Regions from separate parts of the Homo sapiens genome. Here region 2 is linked to region 1. Evidence: promoter capture Hi-C in 16 types of primary human blood cells and fetal thymus (Javierre and others, 2016). All regions are on one chromosome and are shown on one strand. The core of a region is centred on a gene start or on the middle of the fragment in contact, and the rest is flanking DNA. Distances in the headings are between cores, read along the strand shown.

The links. The method cuts DNA at HindIII sites, captures the fragments that hold promoters and counts their contacts. A CHiCAGO score of 5 or more calls a contact.
Region 2: a fragment that was not itself captured here is called in contact with the fragment with the promoter of IRF6 in region 1 in 1 of 17 cell types (total B cells); the score reaches 5.5 in total B cells.

What each region holds. Positions count from the first base shown.
Region 1 is chr1:209,804,802-209,807,501 of GRCh38, forward strand. It overlaps IRF6 (interferon regulatory factor 6), which reads right to left and starts at 1,341. Exons shown (of 9, transcript NM_006147.4): 1 at 1,146-1,341. RefSeq lists a silencer at 1,263-1,606. The HindIII fragment of the contact is 4,987 bases long and covers 1-2,424 here.
Region 2 is chr1:210,328,877-210,331,684 of GRCh38, forward strand. It overlaps HHAT (hedgehog acyltransferase), which reads left to right and starts at 26. Exons shown (of 12, transcript NM_018194.6): 1 at 26-228. RefSeq lists a silencer at 1-82 and enhancers at 243-602, 1,715-1,884. The HindIII fragment of the contact is 5,497 bases long and covers 1-2,808 here.

The DNA of each region.
Region 1 (2,700 bases), core at 91-2,590:
CCAGGGGCACTGCCACACAAAAGCCGAGATTTGGCCGTCAGTGGTTTTGCTCAGGTTAAAACACACGCCATTTCTCGCAGACAATTCTTAGCAGTCCCAGCTCTTCCCTTTCTCCTGAAAGAAATGAAATGCCATCGTCTAAGTTCCGTTCCTCAGGCTTCCCTGTTTAGCCCTGCTTAGGGGTAAACTGCAGGCCTCTAGTCAAAATGCCCACACCCTTCCCTTCTGCTGGATGGAAGCTGGGGGATGGCGAATGGGAGTTACAAGGTATTGAGTGCCACTGTCATACATCATACACACGTCTCATCCTAAACCACACTCCTGGGTCAACACCAGCTTTCACCAATCCCACCCAAGCGCCTTCCTCTCTCTATCCATCTCTTTTCCCTGACTTCCACTCTTGACATCCACCAAGAGAACAGGTTGGAACAGGATGACCCCTTTACCACAAAGCAGGCTCCCTGTAAAGAGTGACACCTCAGGCCTCCTTTCCAAGTCAGGCCTGGGAGACTTTCCCCATTCTCCACACCACCCTCCAGCCCCTTCGGGCAAAGAGGGCCCACCCCCAGAGCAACCACACCCCAGCGCCACCCTCCCCAGCACCTAGCTCCGCTCCTTGGAAATCCAAGGTTGTCTCCCAGGCCCAGGGCGAAGGGCCTAACTGTGCCAAACAGACTCAGGGAGGGAAGACAAACCGCCAATGCTCCAAAGCTCCTGGCCACCCTCACTCCAGTTTCCCAAAACGCCCACTAGGATCAAGGACCTGCGGACCTGGGAAGTCCCCTCTCTGGGACACAGGGGCCAGCCGCAAGTTGGTAAGACTGAAGGGGGCGCGGTGCTTTAGCTCTACCGGATAGTGGGGTTGTTGACGGCCGAGAGCAGTGCCCTCCGCTTCGGCGGTGGGGGTAGGGAGAGTAGACACAAGTGTAGATTCGAGAGGGGCCTAGCGCTACAGAACTGAGGCCGCCCCAAAGCTATCTGGAAAAGGGCGACAGGCACCCAGCCCCAGTGGGTACCCACCCCAAACACACAGATGCCCCCAAGCAAGTTCTCTCACCCCCTACAAACTCCGGGGATGGGTCCTACCCCACCCACGGGGGAGCCTCTCCTCCCTCAAGCTGGTCCCCAGAAGTTGGCGTACCCACCTTTGCTCAATCTGTCCACCAGAAGCGGACGTCCCTCCGAACCAAGTCCGCAGCGAAGATCACCCGTCGCTACCACGCTCCTCGACGTCTTAGCCAAGGGGCGCCTGGCTCTACCCAAGTAGGGACTGCAGGTTCCTCTCCCCGTCCCGCACCAGCCCTTACCTGCCCAGCCCAGGTGCGCCGAGCTCACGTCAGCGCCTCGCCCCAGGACGCCGCAGCCTTCGCATCCGCCCGGCCACGCCTCCCAGGTGTGGCCACGCCCCCCGGCGTTCGGGATTGGCGAGTTGCAAGAAATATGACACTCCGCGTTTCTGGGCTGCCCGGCCCAGCGGCGTCCGTCCAGCGTCCCACCCTACTCCTCCGCTTCTAACTCCGGCTAAGAAAGTCCCAGATTCAGGCCTAGCCTTACGGCTCAGGGCTGGTGGTCCTGGGAACTGGAAGCGACTGGGAGTTCAGATCTAAGTCGAGAGGGTGCCTCCCTCCTTCACGGCCCATAATTACCCTGCAGTATGCAGACAGTTAAGCACAAATAAGGGTTTTGAGATTCTGGGTTGGCCCTACTACTCGTGGGCCTGTGTAAGTGGAGTTGCACATGAAGAAGAGAACCAGGACACTTGGTCCTGTCTGGGAGAAGCCATAGGCTTTCAGGACTAGAATTCTACCTTTACTCTGCCTCTTACCCGTGTGACCCTGGGTAAGTTACTTAGCTTCTTGGCTTCTTGGTTTCAGTTTCCTCATCTCTTCAATGAGAATAATAATTCCTTCCTTCTTTTTTGTTGTTGTTTGCTTTTTTCTCTTTCTTTTTTCTTCCTTTTTTTTTTTTTTTTTTTTTGGAGATGGGGTCTTGCTATTAAGTTACACAGTCTGGTCTGCAACACCTGGGCTCAAGGGATCCGCCTCAGCCTCGCAAAGTGCTGGGATTACAGGCACTGGCACCCAGTTCAATTCCTTTTTTTTTTTTTTTTTTTTTTTTTAGGCAGGGTCTGGCTCTGTCATCCAGGCTAGAATGCAGTGGCACAATCATAGCTCAACCTCCTGGGCTCAAGCAATTATCCCACCTCACCCTCCCAAGTAACTGGAAATATAGGCATGGGTCACCATGCCCGGCTAATTTTTTTTTTTTTTTTTTAGAGACAGGGTCTGACTATGTTGCCCAGACTGGAGTTCCTGCTTCCTCTGATCACTATCGTGTAATGAGTAAAAGCATAGCCTCTGGAGCCAACTATTGGGGTTTAGACCCCAACTCCATCAGTTACTACAGACTTGGGAAAGTTTCTTAAGCTTTTTAGGCCCTGGTGTCTTATCTGTAGAAAGAGGTTAGTAATAGTACCTACCTCAGGGGTATTGTGGGAATTCAATAACTACATGTAAACTGCTTGCAACAATATTTAGCACTTATCAAGTGCTTTATATGTACTTGCAATTATTATTGGCATAAAGATTAAAAATACCATATAGACAGTGCGTCAGAGAACAAGAAGGCATTCCTTGTTATTACCTGAAATTCAAGTCCTGCATGTACCCTAACAGGTGCTTGATGAGATTGCCCTCACCT
Region 2 (2,808 bases), core at 36-2,535, 520 kb after region 1:
CCGAGTCCGGGCGCGGAGGGCGCGCGGGCACGGCGGCAGGGGCGTGCTCGGAGGACGCGCGCTGCGCTGCTCCTCCAAAGGGCAGCTCCGGGGGAAAGAGGGTGGCGTCCCGGGGAAGCCCGCAGCCGCCGCCGATGTCGCTGGGACTCGGAAGTGCCGAAAGAGGGGTGTTGGGAACTCGCGGCGCGCGTGAACGTTGCCGTCGCCGCCGCCCGGGACAGCCCGGAGGTTGGTAACTGGTGACCATAGGGGGTCCTGGGGAGGTTAGATGCTGAATTTTCTGCGTCAGTTTACTCTGTTAAAAAAAAAATGCACAAAACGCTTTCCGTTTCCTACCCAAGTTCCCGTGTGCGCGCCCGAGGGCGGGACAGAGGAAGTTCCCGGTCGGGCGAAGAAGACAAAAGCGGCGGGGGCCGCGCGCGCAGTGCGCCCGGGCAAAGGCGGGGATCTAGGCGCCGGGACAAGTCCGCGCACGGCCCTGCCCACGTCCTCTCTCCTTGGCTTCGTCCCCAGCTTCCGGAACTGCTGCGGGGAGTTGCGAACTCTGGTCCTCTTGGCAGTATCGGCGGTGCGCCTGCCTGCCTGCTGTGACTCCAGGGACTCTAAAGTTAGAGACTTCCTTTGCGTTCTATCTTCAGGACTCAGTTTTCTTCCTCTGTTCTGAGTCTAACCTTCAGGTGGCAGGTCTTTATGCGGAAAAACCCTCCCGCTAATCCTCACCAGAGGTACTTTACGGGTAGCATTGGTGTTAAGAAATGTGCTGCTACCTGTGTACATTGCTCTTGGATCAGGGTTGTAGGGCTAGGGCATTTGGCATCCTCAGAGGTTTGCATTACGTGGGAGTGAGACATTGCTTCTCTTTCTGTTTTTGTTGTTGTTTGTGTTTTTGAGGCGGAGTTTCGCTCTGGTCGCCCAGGCTGGAGTGCAATGGCACAATCTCAGCTCACTGCAACCTCAGCATCCCGGTTTCAAGCGATTCTCCAGCCTTGCCTCCTGAGTAGCTGGGATTACAGGCATGCGCCACCACGCCCACCTAATTTTGTATTTTTAGTAGAGACGAGGGTCTCACCGTGTTGGCCAGGCTGGTCTCGAATTCCTGACCTCGGGTGATCTGCCCACCTCGACCTCCCAAAGTGCTGGGATTACAGGCGTGAGCCACCGTGCCTGGCATCTCATTCATTCTCAGAGCTAAGGACCTATTTCAATGTGATTAAGTGCTATGGGAATGCAAGGAGAGGAGAGGGAAGGCTTCATTGAAGAGGCGGTAGTTCATTGAAGGAGACTTTGAGGAATGATTTTTTTCCCCTTCCATTCCTCATGTTCCATTTTCCCTGTGATTTTTCTCCCTCCTTTCTCGTTGCCAGTCAGTCCCTAATTGTGATTGTTTGATAAGGACAGCTCTGACCTGAGAGATTCAATTAATGTTAATTTAAGGAGACTGTGTGCTTATTAGGTGCTTTAGATACATTATTTCTAAACCTTACAGTAACTGGGAAAGATAAGTGTTGTTATCTCTTTTCACAGTAGGATAGAGAAAGCCTTGGAGGGGAGCCAAAGCCACAAACTAGTACATGTCAGGGCCGGGTTTTGGACTCCTCTTTTGGATCAACGCCTGTGCTTTATCTACTGTTTACTTTGCCCCCTCCTTGGAAGTAGGTTAGATGGATGAACTTAGGGTGAAAGTCAATTCTTTGGAGGGAGCAGCCGTTTTTGTGGGTGGCCAGATGTTGGTGGGAGCTCTGTAGGTAGCATCAGGAACTTGCGAGCATGGGCCTTACCTGCACCCCCTGCTTCCAGCTTAGGACCTGGCCCAGGGGGAATGTTCCCTAAAGCAGTGGTCCCCAACCTTTTTGGCACCAAGGACCGGTTTCATGGACAATAAGTTTTTCATGGACTGGGGGAAGGGGGATGGTGTTGGGATAATTCAAGCACGTTACATTTATTTTATTTATTTGTTTTGAGACAAGAGTCTCGCTGGGTCACCCAGGCTGGAGTGCAGTGGCACGATACTGGCTCACTGCAACCTCCACCTCTGGGGATCAAGCAATTCTCGTGCCTCAGCCTCCGGAGTAGCTTACAGGCATGCGACACCACATCTGGCTAATTTTTGTATTTTTAGTAGAGACAGGATTTCACCATGTCAACCAGGCTGGTCTCAAATTCCTGAGCTCGAACTCCTGAGCTCAAGCCATCCTCTCCTTGGCCTCCCAAAGTGCTGGGATTACAGGTGTGAATCACCATGCCCCACCTGCATTACATTTATTGTGGACTTTATTTCTATTATTATTACATTGTAATATGAATACAACTCACCATAGAGTAGAATCAGTGGGACCCCTGAGCTTGTTTTTCTGCAACTAGGCAGTCCCATCTGGGGGGGTGTGTTGGTAGACATTGACACCCAAAGTGTGTTTGCTTATGTCCAGCCTACTTCATAGTCTCATTTTGGTTGCTGTCACTGCAGAAGACCCTGCTTCACAAAGATAGGATGTTGGAAATGGAAGCAGGCTTTTCGGTGCTTTTGTGGCAATTTCAGGATACTTTGCCTTGACTTTAATCCAGAATGTATGGATATTTGAAGTTGTCTTAAACATACTTCTAGGGCCCGGTCATTTGCTATCTCAAACAGTTGGTCCTCTTCTAGCATGGACAAAGTCAATTCACCTGGCTTATTCACAAATGGATCTAGGATCCTTCCCAGTTCGGGTGTCTTTTGTAGTTGGGAAGTAATGCTCAAACTCTTTTGAAAGCTGAGATAGGTGATCATGCACCAGCTGGGAGAGAGAAGGCCCTGGCTTAGTCTCTTTC